Regions from separate parts of the Homo sapiens genome. Here regions 1, 2, 3, 4 and 6 are each linked to region 5. The links are contacts of gene promoters, found by promoter capture Hi-C in blood cells and fetal thymus (Javierre and others, 2016). All regions are on one chromosome and are shown on one strand. The core of a region is centred on a gene start or on the middle of the fragment in contact, and the rest is flanking DNA. Distances in the headings are between cores, read along the strand shown. Region 1 overlaps CDADC1 (cytidine and dCMP deaminase domain containing 1). Region 2 holds the start of CAB39L (calcium binding protein 39 like). Region 3 overlaps KPNA3 (karyopherin subunit alpha 3). Region 4 overlaps SETDB2-PHF11 (SETDB2-PHF11 readthrough). Region 5 holds the start of ATP7B (ATPase copper transporting beta). Region 6 has its middle 2.6 kb from the start of SPRYD7.

The links. The method cuts DNA at HindIII sites, captures the fragments that hold promoters and counts their contacts. A CHiCAGO score of 5 or more calls a contact.
Region 1: a fragment that was not itself captured here is called in contact with the fragment with the promoter of ATP7B in region 5 in 1 of 17 cell types (fetal thymus); the score reaches 5.1 in fetal thymus.
Region 2: a contact is called between a fragment that was not itself captured here and the fragment with the promoter of ATP7B in region 5, in 1 of 17 cell types (fetal thymus). The highest score is 9.8, in fetal thymus.
Region 3: a contact is called between a fragment that was not itself captured here and the fragment with the promoter of ATP7B in region 5, in 3 of 17 cell types (naive CD4 T cells, total CD8 T cells and fetal thymus). The highest score is 6.7, in naive CD4 T cells.
Region 4: a fragment that was not itself captured here is called in contact with the fragment with the promoter of ATP7B in region 5 in 1 of 17 cell types (fetal thymus); the score reaches 6.9 in fetal thymus.
Region 6: a fragment that was not itself captured here is called in contact with the fragment with the promoter of ATP7B in region 5 in 1 of 17 cell types (non-activated CD4 T cells); the score reaches 5.5 in non-activated CD4 T cells.

The regions. Positions count from the first base shown.
Region 1 is chr13:49,248,964-49,253,038 of GRCh38, forward strand. It overlaps CDADC1 (cytidine and dCMP deaminase domain containing 1), which reads left to right. Exons shown (of 10, transcript NM_030911.4): 2 at 1-2. Among named protein-coding and RNA genes, the nearest start is that of CDADC1, 3.1 kb to the left of the region's middle. The HindIII fragment of the contact is 634 bases long and covers 958-1,591 here.
Region 2 is chr13:49,442,410-49,446,491 of GRCh38, forward strand. It overlaps CAB39L (calcium binding protein 39 like), which reads right to left and starts at 1,655. Exons shown (of 11, transcript NM_001079670.3): 1 at 1,577-1,655. SETDB2-PHF11 (SETDB2-PHF11 readthrough) reads left to right here and starts at 1,865. Exons shown (of 21, transcript NR_135324.2): 1 at 1,865-2,448. SETDB2 (SET domain bifurcated histone lysine methyltransferase 2) reads left to right here and starts at 1,865. Exons shown (of 14, transcript NM_001160308.3): 1 at 1,865-2,448. RefSeq lists enhancers at 1,033-1,102, 1,472-2,244, 1,483-1,562, 2,245-3,018 and silencers at 1,571-2,051, 1,723-1,772. The HindIII fragment of the contact is 3,801 bases long and covers 1-3,742 here.
Region 3 is chr13:49,787,516-49,791,489 of GRCh38, forward strand. All of the region lies in intron 1 of KPNA3 (karyopherin subunit alpha 3), which reads right to left. Among named protein-coding and RNA genes, the nearest start is that of KPNA3, 3.2 kb to the right of the region's middle. RefSeq lists an enhancer at 3,682-3,974. The HindIII fragment of the contact is 1,095 bases long and covers 1,661-2,755 here.
Region 4 is chr13:49,491,496-49,495,335 of GRCh38, forward strand. The region is part of intron 12 of SETDB2-PHF11 (SETDB2-PHF11 readthrough); the gene reads left to right. It overlaps SETDB2 (SET domain bifurcated histone lysine methyltransferase 2), which reads left to right. Exons shown (of 14, transcript NM_001160308.3): 14 at 237-3,508. The coding sequence ends at 354. Among named protein-coding and RNA genes, the nearest start is that of PHF11, 2.5 kb to the right of the region's middle. RefSeq lists an enhancer at 3,264-3,840. The HindIII fragment of the contact is 587 bases long and covers 1,798-2,384 here.
Region 5 is chr13:52,009,497-52,013,628 of GRCh38, forward strand. It overlaps ATP7B (ATPase copper transporting beta), which reads right to left and starts at 1,954. Exons shown (of 21, transcript NM_000053.4): 1 at 1,791-1,954. The coding sequence starts at 1,841. ALG11 (ALG11 alpha-1,2-mannosyltransferase) reads left to right here and starts at 2,902. Exons shown (of 4, transcript NM_001004127.3): 1 at 2,902-2,966. The coding sequence starts at 2,923. RefSeq lists silencers at 2,161-2,500, 2,551-2,660, 2,671-2,770 and enhancers at 2,891-3,020, 3,071-3,160. The HindIII fragment of the contact is 3,430 bases long and covers 2-3,431 here.
Region 6 is chr13:49,936,975-49,940,920 of GRCh38, forward strand. No RefSeq gene overlaps it. Among named protein-coding and RNA genes, the nearest start is that of SPRYD7, 2.6 kb to the left of the region's middle. RefSeq lists an enhancer at 297-346. The HindIII fragment of the contact is 853 bases long and covers 1,663-2,515 here.

The DNA of each region.
Region 1 (4,075 bases), core at 25-2,524, 2.8 Mb before region 5:
AGGTATAATTTGTTTCATAGTTTTTCCCCTTAGAAAAGCAGTGGTTTAAAATCTGAGTTTATTGCTCCAGTTTCTGTCATACCTAAAACCAAACTTAACAAGGCTTAAGATTTAAAAAATATCTTTATTGATTAACATGACACTTTATAATTCCCAGCCGTAATAAGTCATCTTCCATTCTAAAAATACTTTCTGAGAATACCATGTTTATCGGGTACTAATGGTATTCATATGTCAGTTCGGCTAATAAGATTATTGTCTATACCACATAATTTCCCCCAATTATATATACTGTTGGTGTTTTATCTAGGTAGTTTACTCCTCTGCCACAGAAATATATAAATTGCCTGGAGATAGAGACCATGTCTTATTTTACCTAGCATATACCCTTTAGAGTCTAGCATTATATGAGTGCTAATTGATTAATGTTGGATGGAAGTAGTCTCTTTTTGGATCTTGAAAGACAGGATCAAAACAGATTAGAAATGGGCTGTGTGCAGTGGCTCACGCCTGTAATCCTAGCACTTTGTGAGGCTGAGGTGGGTGGATCACCTGAGGTCAGGAGTTCAAAACCAGCCTGGGCAACATAGTGAAACCCCATCTCTATTAAACATACAAAAATTAGCCAGGAGTGGTGGTATCCGCCTGTAGTCCCAGTTACGCGGGAGGCTGAGGCATGAGAATCGCTTGAACGAATCGTTGGAGGTTACAGTGAGCTGAGATTGCACCACTGCACTCCAGCCTGGGTGACAGAGCAAGACTCCATCTCAAAAAAAAAATCAGAAATGTATAGTAAGAATAATCATAAAAGCCAATATATTGGAATTGGAAGTATAAACATCCTGCGTCTTTTCTTTCTCCTACCCTTGGGGCAACAAGGGGCTAGGTTCTCATTTTCCTCCATGCTTGGAATGGCATGATGCTAGGTTCTCATCATTTCTGTTTGATAATTTTGGAAGCTTAGGGTGTTGGCATTAATTTTTATAGGGGGCCACGGCCATTGGAAAATAGTATTAGGTTAAGTTGAGCATTTAAGACTTTTTTTAAAACAGAGGTAAAATGAGGGGGGTGGGGCAGAAAATTACACATGGCTTCTCACCACTCTAACAACATTACTGTTAATATTTTGGTGCTTCCAATCTTAAGCATGAGGTTTTTTATTTTTACTCTTACAAAGTTGTAGTTATATTCTGCATGTACTCGCTGAGGTTTCCAACTTGCCCATAATTCTGCTGAAAGGTTGCTTTAGATTTTCCAGAGAAAGACTATAAATCCTTAAATTCCCACAGTACTCTTAGGAGACCACCTACTCTTTTCATTTTACTGTGGATGAGGTTTTGTGCTTGGCACTGGAGACACAAAGCAGAAAAAACATGGTCTTTATTTTCTAATGAGTAGAAACACTAGGCATTTAAACAATTAAAACAGAATTGGTGGAGTGAGTACATAGTATAAGCAGAGATGTTGGCAAGACTGGGAGCCAGGCTCTATATGGGGAAGTGAAGGAAGGATTCACAGAGAAGGTCGTATTTGCACTGAGACATGAAGGATTAGTGGACTTTTGCCCAAGCCAAGGAACTCTACATGGAAAAGCTTGGAGCAATGAGAGAATTTGTGGTCCTCAGGCCAGAAAGTGAAGTTAGGTAGAGGGAAGAGACTGGAAAGGAGCTTGACAATGTAGACAGGAATCATATCATAAAAAGCATTGTATGCCTTGCAAAGGAGTTTAGATTTTATCTTATCAATATAGGAATTGCATTGAGGAATTTTAACAGGATGTGAGGATATTCGCTTCTCATAATAAAATGATATCTCTTGGTGTAGTTTCCTCCCCCAATTCCTATGTGAAGTGTTTTATAGATAGTAAAACATTATTTAAAATATTATACATCGTTATTCCATATTTCTCACCCTCATCCCCCCACTCTGGCTCTACATGTTATTAACGGCTGAGAAAGCTCTTCATTTCCTTCATTAATTTTGAAATTCCTTTATTCCTTCTACTTGTTAATAGTTTAGTATTATTTTATGAAAGTAGATTTCCAAGCTGTTAGGGATTTTATGTAGTGTTGTGTTTTTTTTGTTTTGTTTTGTTTTGTTTTCAGATAAAATTTATTTTGAAGAGCCAGATTAGAAACAAATATTTAGAGGTTTAAGACTTTTAGGCCGGGTGCAGTGGCTCATGCCTGTAATCCCAGCACTTTGGGAGGCCGAGGCAGGCAGATCACAAGGTCAAGAGATCGAGACCATCTTGGCCAACATGGTGAAACCCCGTCTCTGCCAAAAATACAAAAAGTAGCTGGGCGTGGTGGTGCGTGCCTGTAGTCCCAGCTACTTAGGAGGCTGAGGCAGGAGAAACACTTGAACCCAGGAGGCAGAGATTGCATTGAGCTGAGATCACGCCACTGCACTCCAGCCTGGCGACAGAAAAAAAAAGAAAAAAAAAAGAAAAAAAAACGTATAAAAACTGGACATATTAGAGATTGAATACAAATTTTGAAAAGGCGTTCTTTTTTTTGTAAATATCCAGATGTGATCTCGTTTTAGTTCTGTTTTTTTATATACACACCACATCCTGTGCTGAAATTAAGTTTTTTTTTTCAACAGGCACAAGTTGTATTTAATTAGTGAGAAATGACATTTATGTTTCTATTAGGAAGGAATTGATTGGCCAACTAATTGTTGAAGTTTATTTGCAAATAATACACACCCTACTGTTTCCTCATACTATATAGAGAAAGCTGTGGATCTGAGAAAACTGAGATGAAGCTTTCAGTTAGCATTTTGTTAAAAAAAATACTACCAAGGAAATTTCAAAACTATATTAGCAACAAAATTTTATACAACTTTATATCATGTTTAACAAAAGATCAAGGTTATGACTCTCATTTTCTCCCAAGCCAACAACTCTTAAGTTTTCCTGGCATCTCATTCCTTCATCTGGTGGGCACCATGGAAGTTTTCTAAATGAAAATAAATAAGTCTTTTGTTTCAGATATTTTATTTGGGATCTTATTTAGAAATCTGACTCATACGCATGTCTATTTAAGGCTTTTAAATGGAAAGTTATAACACATAGAAATGAGTACAGAAGGCATCAAAACAAAGAACATCCATGTCTTCAGAAAGCCAGGCAACCTGGAACTAGGATTGACTTGGCTATATGAAAGGTTATCACTCTTAGCTCCTGGTCCTGGAGCATGCCCAGCTCCTATTCACTGCATTGGTGTCTTTCCAGCTGTGCTCCCATACCCATGTGTCCTAGGACTACAACCCTCTCACCATGGTCTTGGGTAGGCCTTTACTTCTGTTCTTACCTACAGGGCTTGGGACTCCAAGGCACTTGGGGAGGGAGAGCCTCAGGATTACTCTGGCAGTGATCTGGGTGAAAGAGGCTTTTGCATGTTAACTTGGGAACTTGACTATCATTTTTAACATTGTTTATATGAGAAAAATGTGTTTTAAATTCCGAAAAGGGAGATTTACCAAGTATTTAGAACATGATTGTAGGTTGTCAATTACTTGTATATTTAATGTCAATAAAGCAGAAGTATATAATTTCATTAGTTCTTCTGATATCATGGCCATTGCAAAAAAGCAAGACCAATGATAGTGTGGGGGAAGAATACAGAATGAAAGGGAGCATATTGTACTCCACTTTTATAGTGTTATTTATTGTACAAACATTATCATTGAAACTGAATTTATAGCTGCAACATTTTTAAAAACTATTTTTTTCTCTTGGATTTCCTTTTTGTACTAGTTAATATCCACATAATTTTGCAGGTAGTTGCAGTCATAGCAGGAACACAATTTTGTATTTGACAGTTTTGGTACTGTTACAGGGTTGATAAGTTATTAATTTTAAATTATACAGTAAGAATACATCTAAATTTCATATGCATGTAGTATATGCTGCCATTGTGTTTATACTTGTGGAAATATTAAATTTCTCAAAATGTTGCCCAATTTTGTGCCTAATATTTCTTTACCATTTACTATAGTATATTTTTTCCAGTATTATTTGCACATGGTATTCTTAGAGTTGAGTACAAACTTTTTCCAATTAAGAGAA
Region 2 (4,082 bases), core at 592-3,091, 2.6 Mb before region 5:
AACTTTTGTTTCTCCATGCATTTTGACAAGCCAACTGGAAGATACAAGTCAAGTGGAAGATACAAGCATGGAATCAAGTAATTAAGAAAAATGATTCTCAGGCCAGGTGCCGTGGCTCACACCTGTAATCCCAGCACTTTGGGAGGTGGAGGCGGGCAGATCATCTAAAGTCAGGAGTTCAAGACCAGCCTGGCCAACATGGTGAAACCCCATCTCTACTAAAAATACAAAAATTAGCTGGGCGTGATGGCCGGTGTCTGTAGTCCCAGCTACTCAGGAGGCTGAGGCAGGAGAATCGCTTGAACCACGGAGGCAGAGTTGCAGTGAGCCGAGATTGCACCATTGCACTCCAGCATAGGCGACAAGAGACTCCATCTCAAAAAAAAAAAAAAAAAAAAAAAAAAAAAAAACATCAATTATTTTGCTGTTTGTTTTGTTTTTTGGTATTCCTGATGCGAGATGTCTTTATCATGTATTGTTGATTAGGTTGTTCATCAGTTAATCTTGAATAACTGAAATCTAAGCTGAAGGCAATAATACATCGGCTTTCTTTTCATGCAAGTCAAACTGCTAAAATCTACCACAAAATATTAGCCTTTCATCAGCTTGGTCTTCAGATCCAATACATTTTCCCCTCAAATGAAAGACAATGCAATGCCATCCACAACAATGCTAAAAAAAAAAAAAAAAAAGGAGGAGGGAAACAAGGTTAAGTCCTGTCTTCTTCCTCCTACCCCAAAAAGAGCTCAGAAATTAAGGTGCTTTCCCTAACAAAGCCTCCTCCTGCTCCATGAAGTGACCAAGCATGTCATGGCAGACCCAGAGATTTATAATCTTCAACATATCGTTATCGGGGAAATCAAGATTTGACAAAATTCTTCCTTCACGCCCCGTTTCTGCAAGACCACCACTTTCTAGCTTAAAATAAAGAAAAAAAAAAGACAGCTGCAGGAATGCTTGGCTGCCCGCTAATGTACAATTTTGCCCAAACGCAGAACTTGACGCCCACTATTACCAAAGGATGGCCTTAGTAAAGTAACCCCCGCGAAGAGCAAACTGTTTAGCAGCCGCTCCCTCGAAAAGGACGGAAGAGGAGGTCTCTTCTGAACCTGAGGATAGTAGAGAGGCACTCCCCTTCCACTACTAGCTTTGCTCCTTTCTCAATCAGGCAGTTCATCAGCTAGCCTCCTTTGTCAAAGGGGGTTGATGGTCAGAATCTTTGCGAGACAAAAATTACTAAAAGAGCTCCCAGGAACCAATGTTAAGGCATCAAAGGCCCCGCCCAGCCCCCACAATGATCAACAAACCAAAACCTGGGATCCCTACTATTACCACCACCACAACCATCACCACCACCACCACCACCATTCCTCGCTCTCTCTAGCCAGGGATGAGACTCAGGCCCAGGAAACCCATCCTTTCCGCAAGTAGGAAGGCGCTGGGTCTCCTCCCTTAGGCCTCTCCTTTACCCCATTGTTCTCTCCGGACCCCTCCACTACGGCCAGGCGCTATGTATGTTTTCAACCCCCAAGAAGCCCAGTCCCAGCCACACACAAGATGGCAGCCTCACACCTACCGGAGGAAACAGCTGCGCCACCACTCCAGTGATGCCGGCCTCTCGACTACGAGTAACTCCATTGGCTCAGCTACAGTGCGCGAGACAAGCCGAGAGCGCTAGCAGTCAATCGGGAGGCGGCGCGCTCGGGCGCCACTGCGGTGCCAGCGGTAAGTGCGCCGAGTCTCTGAGGCGTGAACCAGTGGGGAGTGCGACCAATCAATGGGCTCCTGGCTGGGTGGTGGGACGGCCGGCGTCCGACTCCTCCCATGTAGTGATCGGTTTAGGTAGGTCGGCCTGGTCCCCGGCGGAGGTTACGCCTTCCCTCATCCCCGGTAGAGGCAGGGCGGGACTGTTGTGGTTGAGATGAAGGCTAGTAAATGGTGAAGTACTTCCCGGCCAGAGGGCACCTGCGCTCGGGAGGTTTGGGCGGCTTGGCGTCGGAGGAGAGCCCCACCCGCGGAGGAACCCAGCCTTGCCAACGGAGCTGGCGGAGCTCACTCCTCAGGTCAGGCGGGCGGCGTAGAAAACGCAGCGGAGCCAGGTGAAACCAAGGCACCGCCGTGGCTGGCCCCCGACAGTTCCTCTAGCCGGGAGGTTGGAGGAGCTGAAAACGCCGCGGAGCCCTCGGCCGCCCGAGCAGGGGCTGGACCCCAGCCCTTGCAGCCTCCCTTCTCCTGGCACCCAAGTGCAGTCCTGGCTGCAGAAGGGGCCGCGGGCGCACTGAGTTTCCAACCTCCATTTCAGCCTGTCTGTCTCAGGGTGCAGCCTTAATGAGAGGTGATTCCTAAGCTGCTGGGAACCTGAGGTTGTCAAAGGGGCGGCAGGAAATGGACAGCAGTATAAAACCCAGAAGCAGAACTTGAAGGTTAAACCACTAGCCCATTTCACAGGTAAGATTACACGAGCCCTTAAATACAGCAAGTTCAGTCATTCATCCAAGATCATGGAGTTCAGATTAGATAGTAACACTTCTGACTCGCTATCAGCCACAGCCCAATAAGTAATTAAGTAAGGAAAGATATGTAATTAACTGTGCTCTTTGGCATGTGGAAACCTGCAGTGAGCTCTGTAAATACTAACACATGAGGCCAAGGAGAGGAGTAAATTTGAAGAGGTCAAATGGAGTAACCAAAGCATAGGCTCTGAAACCATGCTGCCTGGTTCCTTATTTCGTGTCTGCCACTTACGGTATGGCATTCCTTAGCTTCCTCATCAGCAAACGAGCTGCTAATTTAACCCACATGACTGTTAGGGGGATTAAATAAGAACACGTGAAGTAGTTAGAAGCGTGACTAACCCGTGGTTCTTAAGCGTGACTTAACCCGTGGTTCTGTCGTTACAATTAAAACGTAAGGAGCCGAGAGGAAATGGTAAACGTGTTTTTAAAGCCTGTTTTAGAAACGAAAAGGAACCATACATTGAAGCAAAGCAGACTGGCTTAATTATTTTTCTACCAAAATGAAAAAGTGAGAAGGGGAAAAAAGTTTTTTAAGCCCATTTACTCTCTGAAATATTAACACCAGTTGTCTCTGGATGATGGGATGGTGTTTAAATTTTCTCCTTTATGCTTTATTGTATTTTGCAGATTTTCTCCAGGAAACATGTTTTACTTGTGCACGTTCAGTTTTCAAATTTTCAGGTGTGAACGCTGGTGAGAGCTGCTTAAAAACAAAGCTATGGGCCGGGCGCGGTGGCTCACACCTGTAATCCCCACACTTTGGGAGGCTGAGGCGGGCGGATCACCTGAGGTCAGGAGTTCAAGACCAGCCTGGCCAACGTGGTGAAACCCCGTCTCCACTAAAAACACAAAAATTAGCCGGGCGTGTGGTGGCGGGCCCCTGTAATCCCAGCTTCTCGGGAGGCTGAGGCAGGAGAATCGCTTGAACCCGGGAGGCAGAGGCTGCAGTGAGCCGAGATCACGCCACTGCACCCTTCTCACTGCACTGGTGACAGAGCGAGACTCCGTCTCAAAAAAAAAAAAAAAATCTATGGCCGTGCGCGGTGGGTGGCTCACATCTATAATCCCAGCACTTTGGCAGATCACTTGAGCCCAGAGTTCAAGACCAACCTGGGCAACATAGACCTCATGTCTAAAAAAAAATAAAACTATTACTGAGTGTGCTTAGGTGGAAGTATAAATTGGTAGAACCTTTCTGGAAGAGAGTTTGACAATATGCTATAAAAAGCTTTAAAATGAATTCCTTTTTGAACATTTATATATACTTAATTTTTAAAAATTAAGTACACTTTTACATTCTTTTACAGAATTGGTACCTTGTAGATAAAGAGCACAATCCAGATTTTGACCTTGAGTTTTTTCTTGCGTGTCAAGGTTATACTTATAAAAACAGTTGAATAGCTTCCCGTATTTTTCCTTCTTGAAAGTTCGTATATGATAAAAATTCTCCGTTCTTTGAAAGTTTTGTACAAGGAATGTTCCCTCACTCCTCTCCCTCCCTACTCCCGCTGGAGACTTTGGTACAGAGCTTTCAAGTGTTTTTTAATACTTACACCTTTTAATACT
Region 3 (3,974 bases), core at 958-3,457, 2.2 Mb before region 5:
TTTGTTTTTGAGACAGAGTTTCACTCTGTCGCCCAGACTTGAGTGCAGTGGCATGACCACAGCTCATTGTAACCTCTGCCTCCCCGGTTCAAGTGATTCTCTCGCCTCAGCCTCCCTTGTAGCTGGGATTACAGGCATGAGCCACCAGGACCGGCTAATTTTTGTATTTTTTTTTTTTTTTTGAGACGGAGTTTCGCTCTGTCGCCCAGGCTGGAGTGCAGTGGTGCGATCTTGACTCACTGCAAGCTCCGCCTCCCGGGTTCACGCCATTCTCCTGCCTCAGCCTCCCGTGTAGCTGGGACTACAGGCACGCGCCACCATGCCCGGCTAATTTTTGTATTTTTAGTAGAGACGGGGTTTCACCATGTTGGCCAGGCTGGTCTCGAACTCCTGACCTCGGGTGATCCACCTGCCTCGGCCTCCCAAAGTGCTGGGATTACAGGCGTTAGCCATTGCGCCCAGCCGCTTAGCATAAAGCTTTGATATATTGTAAGTCCAGGCTTTGCCACTTAACACCCGATGGAAGACTTAAGGCCACTTACTTAAGGGTTGTAGGCCTCAAGTTGCCTCAGCAGTAAATGGGGATAATAATAGTACTTACTTGATATAGGACTGTTGTGAAGATTAAATAGATAATCTATATAAAGTACTTAGCACTGATATACTGTAAACAATAAATGTTAAGGTTTTTAAAATAATTAATTACTGTTACTAATGAAAATGTCACACCCTTGAGGTATACAGCAGCAAGAAAATGAGTTGACCTGGATTGCAGTTACCTGAGCATTTGTTTTGTAATTATTCATTAAACAGAACATTTCTGTTTTGCACACTTTTCTATAAGTTATCTTTGAAAACAGGAAAAGTTTTTAAGAATCAATGCCTTACATGAAAAGGTCTAGCATTAAAATGCACATTCCAGGACCGGGCATGGTGACTCATGCCCCTAATCCCAACACTTTTAGAGGCCAAGGCAGGAGGATAACTTGAGCTAGCAGTTTGAAACCAGCCTGGGCAACATGGCAAAACCCCGTCTCTACAAAAAACACAAAAATTAGCCAGGTGTGGTGGCATGTGCCTGTAGTCCCAGCTACTCAAGAGGCTGAGATGGAAGGACGGCTTGAGCCTGGGAGGAGGCGAAGGTTATAGTGAGCCGAGATTGGGCCACTGCACTCCACCCTTGGCGACAGAGCCAGACCCTCTTTTTTTTTTTTTTTTTTTTTAAAAAAAAAAAGCACATTCCAGAACAAATAAAAGGAAATGTTTCCCTTTCAATATGTACTTCCTAGTTTTTGCTACAAAATGCATCCCCTACCCAAGCTCCAAATTTCTATCAGTGATGATAATTACTCCCTCCCTTCCTCCATTTATAAACCTCAGAATAACCTTTACTCCCTTTCTCTTCAGTGATCTTTATAAAGAGAATTTGAAGGAGGAGGAAGAGGGAGGAAGAACAGCATCATCAAATCCTCATTCCAGGTTGTAGCCATTCCCAGTCTCAATTTTTTGGAAAACTCTTCTTTGCAGATCAGACAACAGCGCTATTTCTCCAAAATGAATTCTAGGTATTACTGCCCTGTCACCCTTTCCATTGCTCTAATCATGTTACATCTCCTCTTTGCTCTGGAATAAATTCCTTCACATCTCCCTATTAAGAAAAAGCTTCCAAGCAACTCTTTGCCACAAGATATTCTTGCATCAACACAGGCCACCTGGAAGTCTCCTCTCTTTAATATAATCACTCTTCTTTTTTACCTGGATATTTATTCACCAGTTAACATGCCCCTTTTAAGTTTGGTACATATTTCCTATAAGATTCACTAACCTCATTTTTTTTTTCCTCTCCAAAGATCTCTTAAAGTCTCTCTCGATTGAATGACAAAGAAATTTTCTTCCTCAACCCTCTCTCTACTCAAATCCCCTGGCATAACTCTATCCTTTTATTTTCTTTAACAAGTATGGATCTTATTCTTGCACCTAACATCTTGTGTATCAGCTGCTTCTATAATTTATAACATGTTTTAGTTTTTGTCTATCCTATATGTGAAAAAATAGGCATCATAGCTTATCAAAGTGCATCTCACTGTTTTGGAACAGCCTGATAACCACAACTACTCAGTTACAGAGCTAAGTTGTACTGTTTCTAATGGACAAGACTAAGCATGGTTATCTACTCTTAGATATGCCTAAATCCCCAATAAAGGCCCTTCATCAGATTTGACCCCAGTTTACCCTTTAGTCTCTCTCTCTCCTACATTTCTCTCAGGACTCTTCAATTACTGCTCCCTCTAGTCTGGAATGCCCCTTTCTTCCACCAGCCTTCTCCCGCCCTTTGCCTGGCCACCTTTCTTTCATCCTTCACAATCAGCTCACTCCCATTCATCCATTAGAAATCAACCAGAGTATCTTCCCTTTCTGCTCACCTCCAAGTAGTTTTTTTGGCATGCATTTTCGGAATACTATACTGTAACAATTGTTGTTCTGCATTGTAATTATCACCCCCACTGGACTGTAAACTCCCTGAAGTACAGACTGCATCTTATTCCTTATCCCCAAGACCTAACATTGATAGATACCCAATAGACAATTAGTGAATAAATAATACCCATATCCACTGAGTGACATGCACAGGCTACATAAGCACACTGAGGTTTTTTATCTAAAGTTCCAGCTGGGTGTGACGACTAGCATCTGTAGTTCGAACACTTTGGAAGGCCGAGGCGGGAGAATCACTGGAGCCCAGGAGTTCAAGACAAGCTTGGGCAACAAAGCGAGACCCCGTCTCTAAAAAAGATTAAAAAATTAGCCAGGTGTGGTGGTGTCCGCCTGTAGTCCCAGCTACTTGGGAGGCCATGGTGGGAAGATTCCTTGAACCTAGAAGTTTGAGCTTGCAGCTGAGCTATGAGTGCCTGAGCACTCCAACTTGGGTAAAGGAGCAAGACTCCGTCTCAAAAAATACTTTACTCATGTAAAGTGGGGATAATGCCACACTTCATATACTTGTTACACAGATTAAATAAGGTATCATGAAGCTCGTAACAGTGTCTGCCACATTAGAACTACCATTTGAATGTCTATTTCATGTTTTAGTTACACTATAGAATCCCGAGAAATGTAATGTTGTGACCAATACCAGGCTGAATGGCTTAGCAACCATGCTCTTTTTCATGCATCTAAAAGTCACGGGTTACATTCTTATCAGCAAATATTTGTTGTGTACCTATTATGTGCAGGAGTCCTTACTAAGTATCACTGAGCTACCAGAACACAATAGAGGTAAACAATGAAACAAAAACCTGTACCAATATCCGAGAGAAGAATGTTACTGGTTTTTCTGTACAAACAATGAGTATTTTTCAATAAATTTTTATTTGGAACAGGATAGGCTTCAAGAAAAATTCCTAATGGGAAAAGTTCAAAATTAACACTTGTCATCAAGTGGACCAATAACAGGAGGCAGTTCCAAAATTTCTTGTTCCTATTCCCAAGTTTTACTTTCGCTTAGATGTATTTCTTACAAAGGGTATTTAACCATGACCAGGAAAGAATATATGATCTTTATTTGACTCATTTAAATGGGAATTCCACGGATATCTCCCTAGGTTCTTTCCTACTAGTATTTAATTTTGTAGCTCTGAAAAACGGCCTGAGTTTGTCTGTTTCTCTACAAAATAGAACACTGAATGGTATATTTACCCCACAACCTTCCTTAAGACAGGATAAAACACACCTCTTAATCACACTAGCTTATCAAAAATTACAAAACTGCAAATCATGTCGCCTAGTATTAGCAAAGAAGGCTGCGGCCTTAAAACCATTTTCCCCCTAACAAATCCAAAGGTCACGGTCCCAGTGAAGTTTGTGCATTATACTTACTGTTTTCAGTAGCTGCAGAGAGACCTCTAGCGCTGCCTCAATAAGCCGAGTTTGCAAATAGTACCTGCTAATGTCACCTTAATGAGACAATGGCAACA
Region 4 (3,840 bases), core at 841-3,340, 2.5 Mb before region 5:
AAATACACTTCTTCCTCATATTGATAGGTTCCTTCTTACTTAACATTTTAGTAGATTTGAAATAAAACTCAAATGGTTATTCTTAATAAAAGGTCATTCCTAATTGGTGGATGTTGGGTGAGAGAACAGATCATATTTTTGAGGATGGTTAATGTTAATATGAAAATTGATATAATTTGGTTCATTGGTAGTTATTTAGGGTATTTTATGATTCTTTTCAAATTTCTACTTTCTAGGTATGTGAAAGCAAGAACAGAGCTAACATGGGATTATGGCTATGAAGCTGGGACTGTGCCTGAGAAGGAAATCTTCTGCCAATGTGGGGTTAATAAATGTAGAAAAAAAATATTATAAATATGTAACTAACGCCTGTTTGTGAAATTAGCTTATCAGGCTGAAATTAAAGCCATGCAAAAGAAGGTCTAGGTCCATCAAGGAAATTCCCCTCCGTTTTCCTTTGTCATGGGGTTTATGTTTTATTTCAGATTTTATTTGTGTGACTTAGAAATTCCAGGAACACAATTAGGATATTTTCATACACATAGGGTATCTTGTTCACTGCTGTGCTACTTTACATGAGTAGGATGGAAGTGTATATTTTATATGAAATACCACTGTACAATTTATAATTTATTTACAAATTATATATTAAGAGAAACAAATGTCATAACAGAACTCAGCTGTTTCTAATTGCTTTTGTGACTGTTACCTTTTAGTTCATGCCCCCCCAAAGAGCTAAATTTCACATTTTTACCTACAAAATTGATTTTTAATTCCTGGCAAATAATTTACCATTATGAGCTACAAGGTGGGCAACAGCGCCTGAGGATCTAATTTTATGCATATTACTCCCAAGTATTTTAACACTTGTTGGAGAAGCAATATCTGGATCGATAAAACACTGTCCCATCAACCATTTGAGTGGGGAGAGGGAGAAGCTCTTCTGTAAGTAAGATTCTGGCAAGCTCTTTGAAATGAGTCTTCTTTCCCACAGATTTTCTCTACTCTTTCTATACAAACAGATAGGAGAAGAGGGAATAGAAACCTGGAGGAACTTGAATATTTTTGTTCTAGATAGAGATACAGTTACTGAAAAGGAAACCTAGAAAGTAGTCACACGTTGCTTATTTAGGCCAGAAGTAATTGTACTGGGCAAAAATTTCACTTAAAAAACACAAGAAGTCCAGGTATGGTGGCTCAGACCTGTAATCCCAGCACTTTGAGAGGCCGAGGCAGGTGGATTACTTGAGCCTAGGGGTTCAAGACCAGCTTGGGCAACATGTCAAAACCCTGTCTCTACAAAAAATACAAAAATTAGCCTGGCATGATGGCATGTGCCCGTAGTCTCAGCTACTCAGGAGTGAGGTGGGAGGATCATTTGAGCTCAGAAGGTCAAGGCTGCAATGAGACATAATTTCACCATAGTACTTCCAGCCTGGGCAATAGAGCAAGACTCTCTCTCAAAAAAAACAGCACACACACACACACACGAAAACAATTCTGAACTATGAAATCTGAAACAGCCCCTTGGTATCTCCTGGGCATGATTTGCAAATCTTTTTTTTTTACAGAAAAAAGGCAAAGAGTAAGCACTTTGCCATAGGTTACTTGGCCGTGATCATCTATCTAGTGGAAAAGGGGACTGGGAAGCCCAAGCAGACTGGGAAACCAGACAGCTAGGAAAAGGAGCAAAACATAGCCCAGCAACCTACAGATGAAGAAAGTTGAGAAATCCATTTATTCACCATAGAGACGCAGGAATTTCAGGCAATGCACTAAAATGAAATGGGGGAAAAAAGCTTGATCAGTATGGGAACCATTTTTGTGCAAAAGGGAATATTATGGATCAGCCAGTATTTCTTTGAGCTCTGCCTGTGGAGTCCATTTGACCTTTAGAAATATGAGGTATTCTGTCAGTTTTATCTTCTTGGAGAAATTTCTCCTAAAATCTTGATTTGCTTTAGTCTGGACTGGTTCATAGCCATCATCTTCCATCAGTACCCCAGAGATTCACTTTGTCTCTTATGTGGGATCTGTTTCCAGTTAGATGCCATTATTTTCCTTTTCCTTGGTTTACTCTTCCACATATTGGTAAAGCTCTTCCAATAGCTTTTGGAAAGGAAAAATGAAAAGTAAATGTTTTGAATCTCTGTGTGTTTGACAATGTCTTTATTTTACCCTTATACCTGATTGCTGTTTTGGTTGGCAAGGTATAGGATTCTTTAGTGGTCTCCATGCCCAGTTTTGAAGACATCTGCTAGCTTTCAGTGCTGTTGCTGTGGAGTCTGAAAATCTGTCTTCTGGCTTCCAGGGTGACTACTGGAAATTGAATGCCATTCTGTTCCTTCTCTTTTGCATATATAATCCATTTTTATCTCTCTTGAAGCTTATAGGTTTATCTTTGTCTCAATGTTCTGTCCCTGTTAAGAGTCCATTTTCATCCTTTGTACTAGGTGCCTGGTGGGATCATTCCGTCTGAAACTAATGATTTCCCATCTCTTCACTGTTTCTGGAATTCCTGTTTTCCAGATGTTAGACCTCCAGAATTTGATCTCTAATTTTCCTATCTTTTCTCTTAACTTTCAGCTCTGTCTTCTTGCTAGGACCTTTTCCTAGGAGCATTTCTCAATTTAATCTTCCAGTTCATCTGTTGCATTTTATTTTTCTAGTCTCATATTGTCTCATATTTTTAATTTCTAAGAGCTCCCCTTCTCCGAATATTCTTTTTTTTTAATAGCATCCTATTTTGGCTCATGGTTGCAGTATTTTATCTCCTTGAAGATGTTTGTGTGTTTATGTATGTATATGCACACACGTATACATACACATACAGGCATGCATCTCTGTATTCTTTCGGCATAATCTGTGTCCTCCAGGGTTTGTTTCTTTGTTTCCCCTGTATGTTTGTTTTGGTCGTTCACATTATAGGCTTTCCTCAGAGTTAATGGTCTTGGTAGTCTACTCATATTTAAGTGTGGAACACCAAAAAGCTTACTATAAGCTGAGAGTGTGGTAAAGGGCTCTTTGTTTTACTATGACCTACCTGAGCTATCTTGCTGGGGAACACCCTAATGTCAGTCTCTTTATAAAGGGCCTTTCATTTTGGCCTGGCAAGAAATACTCTTTCATCCTCCTGCATGGAGGGCAAAAAAAAATTTAAAAATTGGCTGCTAGGGTCTGTCTGCTCACTTCCCTGTTTTGCAGACCCCACACTCTTCTGCAATTCATTTCATAGTTGTCAAGACTATACAAATTGTCCTTTTTAATGTTCTCTCTTCTGCTATCCCTAGTTGGCAGTCTTCCTCTTTACAACCTGCTGAAAGTGGAAGACCTCCAGTTTTCCTTTAATTCCTCAGCAAACCACCAACTATTATATGTCTTTTTTCCAGAACAACTTATTTTTTAACTATAATTATATGCATTTATGTTAGATTCACTGAAAACCTCATCTTGTATGGTGCTCTGTACCCTATGGGTGCTAAATAAAGGCTTGCTACTGGCAACTGGATTTAGGATCGGCTAATTCTGCGTCCTTTTAAGATATGCTTATTTAAGCCAAACTCGGTATGATAATTTTTTTTTTTTTTTTTTTTTTTTTGAGAGGGAGTCTGGCTCTGTCGCCTAGGCAGGAGTGCAGTGGCGCGATCTTGGCTCACTGCAACCCCCGCCTCCCGGGTTCAAGCGATTCTCCTGCCTCAGACTCCCGAGTAGCTGGGATTACAGGCGCCCGCCACCAAGCCCGGCTAATTTTTGTATTTTTAGTAGAGACGGGGTTTCACCATGTTGACCAGGCTGGTCTCGAACTCCTGACCTCGTGATTCGCCCACCTCGGCCTCCCAA
Region 5 (4,132 bases), core at 704-3,203:
AAGCTTAGAGCCCCCACACTTTCTGTAACCTCAGGATAGTATAATTGTGGCAACCACCTTGCCTTCCTTTGAGATCTTATGTTGTAAGACTCTCACGGCACGTTAGTAAATGTGTATGCCTTCTCTCCTATTAATCTGCCATTTGTCAGTTGATTTTTCAGTGACGCTTCACGGGGCACAAAAGTTTTCCCTTAACTCCTACGCTATACATTTGTTTATCCCTTTTTTTTTCCTATCTCCAACTAGGATGTAAATTCATGAGGGCAAGGTCTCGGTCCTACCTAAATCCCCAGTGTCTAAAACTTTGAGTACTATGTGTTTGAGCACATAGTACACACAAAAAAATTTGTTGAATAAATGTTGATAACAAGATATAATACCTACATCAAAGGGTTTTTGTGAGGATTAAACGCGAGAGTGCACATAGAGGGATATGAGTGCCTAACACAATGCCCAGCACACAGTAAGCTCAATAACGCTGGTCAACGCTATTATCAGAGGATTCCAGAAGACAGGTCAACATGGGCAGGAGCAGTTACAGAACGTTTCAAGGAGGTGGCAGGTCTTGAGCTTGATTTGGAAGGATAATGATTTCTTTCTCTAGGTGGGGACACTGTAGGAAGTTGAAATCTCCTCTGTACAAGCCACCCCTCCCAACATTTCTTCATACTCCTATCAAATGCATAGTCATCATACCCTACAAACCACCTACTAACCAGCCTCTCTCTGTCTGTCCACTAATCCGTTAGTTTTCATTTCTGTATCACCGGAGCCTAGATGAATTCACTACTAAAGGGCACCCAGCAACGTCAGTGAATTAGTTTCAGAAATCTGTGGAAAAGAAACAGCCTACTGTTCTGTCCAGCAATCCAGGCCTAAGTATCTATCCTAAAGAAATAGTGTCAGCATTAAAAATCATGTACAAAGATGTTCACTTGCAAGAGAGAGAGAAAAAAAGTAGCAAACAGAACGTCCACCACTAGGAAACCATGAATAAACTATGATGCGTCCAAACTGTGCAGAGGTTGCACTGAATTAGACAGTTAGTGAAACAATCTCTAAGATATATCGTTAAACTGAAAAAAGAGAATGCACATACAGTGATCTCATTTAGGTAAAACAAAAATTTTAACACCTCATACAAATGAAACCTAAAGATTTCTCTGAATGTGTGCATATTACATATAGATACATGTCTTGTTAACCACTGTATCAACTCAACACTGTGTGCCTGAAACATAGAAAGTTCTCAATAAATATTTGCCGAATGAAGACATATGTACGTGAATAGAAAAAGACTGAAAAATAGATCTGCTTTTTGTGCAAAATATTTCTGTGCTGTTTCCATTTTTAAAAGACTGTCTTAATGTATTACTTGTACAATTAAAATGAATTTAAAACAGTTATAAAAGTTCCAGGACCTCGATATACCATATCTGGTCCAAGCACCAGGCTCTGAGTAACTTCTCCAGGTAACTAACTTCATCGTTTTGAGCCATTAGGGCTCTAGCACAGCAACTCGACGCTCACTTTATCTCTCCAGCATCAGACCCCTTAAAAGCATAAAGATGAATTTTGAGGTGCGGGGTTTTCCATTGCTCCCAAACATCAGTTGACGGCACACTTTTTCTAAAGGGTCCTTTTCTCCCACGCCAAGACATCCCTGGAGCTGGGGTCTGGCTCGGCCTTCCCTGCGCACCCCCTGGGGGCGAGTAAGCGCCGAACGCGGGGAGGAAAATCCTCCTGGTGGGAGTGAGCACGCTGCGCGGACGCGGGGGAACAAAACTCACTTTCCGACTGGCCCCTTCTCTGGCTGTGATCTGTCTCTCCTGCTCAGGCATCGTCCCGCACGGACACCGAATTCTTCTCTGATCTGGCTCAGAGCAAAAGGTCACCTGGTCGGTGGAGGAGAGCGGGGTGTTAAAGTCCCGGGAGAGGAGGCGCAGAGTGTGAGGGCATCGGCGCGGCTCGGCTCTAAAGCAAACAGGGGTCCGGGAACCGCCCCTTCATTTGGGACCGGGGAAGCCGCAGCCCTCTTCACACGGATGATTCAAAGTTGCGCGCCGCCGTCCTCCCGACCTGGGGGCACGGGGATGAGAGCGTGAGGGGAGAGTGGGCCTCGGACCCTCGCCCACTCCCCAGGTGGCTGGGAGTGCCCACCCTGGAACTGCCGGCCCCGCCGGTGCCACAGTGTTCTCTGCCGTGCCAGTGCCACAATGTCCTCTGCCGTGCCGGCGCCGCAGGGCGGAGGCCTGTCCTCCTCCGCGGTCTCGGCCACCTCGCGCTGGTGCGCTCCGACACTGTACTGGGATCTCACGCGTGTGCGGGAGCGGGAGGGCAGGTGAGCTGCGCAGAGCCGGGCCGCAGACTCAGCTCCCAGGGCTCACCCACCGCCTGCGGGGAAGGTGCCCGGCGGCGCCGCGTCGGGTCCGCTCTGCGCTGCCCCCTCCTCGGACTCTGCGCCTGGCTGCCGGACGCCGTGGGTCCCAAAGGAAGCAACCGCGGCAAGAGTGAACTCCGCACCTGGAAAATCGATCCGCTGTGCGCAAAGGCCAGCCAATGGCCTCCAACGGGCGGCGGGCTTTGGGCCGGGAACGGGGGCGCAGGCGCCCAGGCGGGGGCTTCTAGTGGGGGAGGTGGCCGAGGGAGGGAGCGACGGCTGTCAATCACAGGCCACGCCCTCCTCAGCCCAACCCCCCACTGCTGTCCCGCCCACGGGGGCGGGAGCCGTGTGCGCCACGCCGAACACTAGTCTACGCCTCGGCATATTCTATTGGCTGGAAGGCCGTGGGAAGCGGCTACCAGTAACCAATAGTAACGCACAATTGGCCCGTGGGGGCGGGGCGAGCACGGCTTGCTTTCTCAGGAGCCAATAGGGAAAAGGAAAGTGAAGCGTTTCCTGAGTTCGGGGGTCGGCGGAAGATGGCGGCCGGCGAAAGGAGCTGGTGCCTGTGCAAGTTGTTGAGGTGAGCAGCCGGTCGTGTGGGCTCACAGACGTTTTCTCTTCTGTAGGGGTACTTGCCCGTCCAGTGTAGCTAAATTTTGCGGGCAAATGGCCTTCCTTGTCATGAATCTAAGGTAATTTCTCAGGCCAATGAGCAGTCTTTCTTTTTCTTGGGGGTCTTCTATATAGACTGGAATAGACTAGGTCTTAAAGACTCAATTTACCGCGTTTTCTTCTGCTTCACTGTTGGCCGAGGGGTCGAGTTCCCTTCCCTGCTTCAGCTTTTTTTTTCCCTTTCACACTCCAGTTAGTCTGTCATAAATTATTCATATTCATTCCTTATTTTTCTTTACGATTGAGCCACGAGACATTTTCCAATCTATCATGTCTCTTTTCGGTAAAGAAGAAACCGGATCTTCCTTCTCATCTTAGTTTCTACTCTTAAACTCACCAAAACTGCCATTGTTAACACGTCACTTAAATATAAAGCTTATGTTGAATCCTCTGCTTTTTGATAATCTGTTACTTTAATTTTTATGATGTAAGAAGTTACATAAAATATTATTTTATTTGTATTACGTGTATATGCTGTTTCTTCTAGAAAAATTAGAAAATAGATAAGTAAAAGGAAAAAACCCCAGGAATGCTACCATCCGGAGATAGCCACTGTTAACATTTTGGTGAAAAAACTCCCAGGCTTTTTTCCACCTTTGTTGTTGTAGTACTACTGTATTTTAAATGCCTTGCCCTCCACTAATAAAACAGAAGGCCTAGTATATTCTACCTACCTAGTTTTTTTACCACCTACATATTTTTGTTCAGGCTGAAAATTTATAATTAACACCATAGCTTCCTGAATAGCAGTATATACCTAATTCTTTCAAAAGTTCAGGCATTTCTTCTTCGTTTTTGTCCACTCTACTTCAAATTCTGTAATCATTACTTTAAACATTTTGAATGAGAAAGTCTGTTATCAGAGCCTTTTGGTTCTTCCCTGTCATACGTAATATTCCTCAGTGCTTTACATTATAATGTTTAAATAAACTCACTAACCAGACTTAAAGGACAGGTTTAACTTTAGTTATTATGCAGCTTTTAAGTTAAATGTTTAATAGTTCAGTTTGAAAAGCTTGTCACATGAATTTTCCCACCTAAATTATTTGAAGGAATTGCCAGAAAAACCTTTAC
Region 6 (3,946 bases), core at 839-3,338, 2.1 Mb before region 5:
CGCGCCCTACCTGGCCCATCGGGCTGCGTGGTCCGGGGCGCGTGGGAGGCCGCCCTGGGAGCAGAACGCTGGGGCGGGGTCGGGGGCGATTCTTGACCTGCCTCTTCCAAGCTCCCCCTGTCTGGTGCACTGAGGGTTCCGAGGAATGTGACGGGAACCCAGGAGGCTGCGGGAAGTCTGCTGGGTCCCGAGGGAAGCCTTCGGCTCCTACCGTCCGCTACTTTCTGCTTCCACACGGGAGGCTGTCACCTGTCATCTCCTTCCCCACTTAGATCATCCTTCCGTGGTAGATTTTACATCTTCAGGCCGGGTGCAGTGGCTCACGCCTGTAATCCCAGCACTTTGGGAGGCTGAGGTGGGCGGATCACCTGAGGTCAGGAGTTCAAGACCAGGATGGCCAACATGGTGAAACCCCGTCTCTACTAAAAATACAAAAATTAGCTGGGTGCGGTGGTGCACGCCTGTAATCCCAGCCACTCAGGAGGTTGTGGCACGAGAATCGCTTAAACCCGGGAGGCGGAGGTTACAGTGAGCCTAGATCGCGCCACTGCCCTCCAGCCTGGGCAACAGAGACTCTGTCTCCAAAAAAAAAAAAAAAAAAAAAAAGATACCGCTTGGCATCTGGAAATGTCTGGGACGACCTCTAGAATTAACCTAGCTCAAACCTCTGTTCCCAGATCAGTTTCATCCTGAAGGCTTCCCTAGGGATGGATCATCAAGTCCTGGGAAACTGGACATAAAATGCCCACTACTTAAATAATGATTTCCCATACGTAACTTTTAGTGACCCGAGTTATAAATGTTTTTTAAGGAGGATTTCTATCTATGCAATGAGGGGAATTTTTCAGGTTCCTGGTTCTCTTTCTATAAATGGTGTTTTCATTACAATACTAAGGGAAAGTTTTGTACGTTGAAATTAAGTTACCATAGAATTTAATAACCAAGGTGATTATTAAACTGATTGAGGGTTGGTCTTTTCCCCCATTGCGTATGCAGTACTTTCTTGGTAATCATTTCACACAAGAAATTTTCTTTTATGACAAACCTTCATCGTTATGCTGGGAATTAAGTGCTTTGATTTTTTTTTTTTTTTTTTTTTTTAACCCCAGGGAAGTGCTGGGGGCGGGGCAGGGGGTGAGAATTTTAACAGAATATTGGAGAGACAAAATTTTTCTACCGTTCATATATATATATCTAGTTGAATTATTTCAAGATTTCAAGGTCAGTATTGTCCCCATTTTATAGGTGAAGAAATAGGCCTAGAGGTACTAAACTTTACAACTTCAGGTGAGCAGGAGATAAACAGGTAGGATTCAAGGCTTACCAGTCTGATTCCTGTTAGAAGAAAAACTTCAGCTGAACTAAATTTAAAGGAGTTAAACTGAGCAGTGAATGACTGGGCAGCCCCCAGAATCACAGCAGATTCAGAGAGACTCCAGGGATGCCTCGTGGTCAGAACAAATTTTTAGACAAAAAGAGGGAAGTGACGTACAGAAATCAGCAGTGAGATACAGAAACAGCTGCATTGGTTACAGGGGGGCGTTTGCCTTATTTGAACACAGTTTGAACAATCAGCAGTGTATGACTGGTTGAAGTATGGCCGCTGGGATTGGCCAAGACTCAGCTATTGTTACAGGTGCATACTCCTAAATTAGGTTTTCAAGCTTGTCTGCCTATTAACCTAGGTTACAGTTCGTACACAAGGACTCAAATACAGAAGTACAGAGTCCTTCTCAGGCCATATTTAGTTTGCTTTAACACTGCCTCTCAAATTCTTTCTCTTATAATTAATGCTATAATCCTCTTAAACATGCTCTCAGTTCAAAATGCAGATTTGCCCTTTTTTGTGTGTTTCATTTATCTCCACATTGGATATAAGCTGCCATAATGCATGTATAGACAAAATATAATAGAATTAGTTGTTATAAAGTAAAAATTTTGTTCAGAAATATTATTAAAAGAAGTACATGTATTATATATGTAATAAACATTTAGGCCATTCAAGTCAGTCACATCTTCAATGAAAAGCCAGACACTAAATGGCCGTGAATTGGACATTACTATAGAGAGGCAGAAGGGCCATAGTCTTTCCTAGCTGGAAAAGTAATTTGCTGGGGCGCTGCCCGGTGCACTTTGCCCCCATCCTAGCAACTCGAGTGTGCTCAGCAGAATGAAGTTAGCAAAACTGGTTAGCTCCTGAAACAGACTTCCCTGTCTTGGCAGATTAACACCATCCATGAGCTCACTTTTCCTTCTAATATCTGGGATTCTAATATCCATTCATTATTACTTTCAAAGGAATTATCCTCTCTTTTTGAAAAGCACAACGTTAAAGATGTTTTGACACTCTTTCACAGCTATCGCTTTAAATAACAATCACAAATAAAGCCAAAAATAGTTTCTCAAGGTCATTTATCTAAGTCATAAGCAATAAGAAAGAATGACTACTTCAAAAAAAGAGTCTGTCTGCTTCCAAGACATGCCAGGAACTCGAGAACTGAGAACAATAATGTAAAGCTTGTGTTTCAGAGTTGAGATTAGCATTATGCTTAAGATTTTCTTTAATGTTTTTTATGCCAGCTGGACGTCTTCTGTTAGTGAATTTCCCATTCTGTACTGGGTCATACGAAATGAGTTTTTAAAAACTCATTAATCAGTTATTAAACAAAACATTTTTCCTTAGACTAATCCAAACCACATTTGTGATCTTTTTAAAAATCAGAAACATTAACAAAAACTCATTTTTCTAAAAACTGACATATTTCTGGAGCCTTGACCAATTCATTATTATAATTTTGAGTAACTAATAGTGATTGACATTTATGTAGTGCTTATTATTGCCAGGCACTGTTCTAAGTGTTTTTTAAAAATAAACTAATTTAGTCTTTGTAACAACCATGTGAGGGAAAAACTATCCTCCACTTTACAGATGAGGAAGCTGAAGAAAAAATAAGAAATGTACTCAAAAGTTGCACAGTCAATGAAGGATGAAGCTAAATTCAAACAGACATTCTGGCTCTAGGGTCTGTGTTCTTAACCACTCTGCAAACTGCCTCCTAGGGTGTTACATTTAAAAATACATTCCTAGGTCTGGTGCGGTGGTTCACGCCTGTAATCCCAGCACTTTGGGAGGCCGAGGGATATGGACTGCCTGAGCTCAGGAGTTCGAAACCAGCCTGGGCAACATGGTGAAACCCTGTCTCTACTAAAAACAAACAAAAAAATTAGCCGGGCATGGCAGTGTGTGCCTGTAATCCCAGCTACTTGGGAGGCTGAGGCAGGAGAATCGCTTGAACCCAGAGGCGGAGGTTGCAGTGAACCAAGATCGTGCCATTGCACTCCAGCCTGGGTGACAGAGCAAGACTCTATCTCAAAAAAAAAATAAAAAAATAAAAAATGAATATACATTCCTAATTTGTATTTGTCTCCTTCTATCCCCTTTCCTCAGAGACTGACATTTAAATTTACTTGGCATGAATTGTGCTCATTTAATCTGGATTTCCTGAATTATAAGTTATATTACCTAGATTGAACAACCAAAAATAAATAAGGAAAATAACGTCAACCTTGTAACTGCAACAGACTGCCATTAGTTGGTTCTCTTAGCGGTGCCTTTGAATATTAATATTTTGCAGGTTTGTCCTTAACAGGCTGTCTCTACCGGAAAAAAAAAACGATATTTAGTACTTTTTTTCTTCTTTTTCTTTTTTTGAGACAGGGTCTCACTCTGTTGCCCAGACTGGAGTGCAGTGGCACCACCACGCCTGGCTAATTTTTTGTGTTTTTTATAGAGATGGGGTTTCACCATGTTGCCCAGGCTGGTCTTGAACTCCTAGGCTCAAGGGATCCACTCACCTTGGCCTCCCGAAGCGCTGGGATTATAGGCATGAGCCACCCTGCCTGGCCTGTTTAGTACTTTTTTTTTTTTTTTGAGACAGAGTCTTAC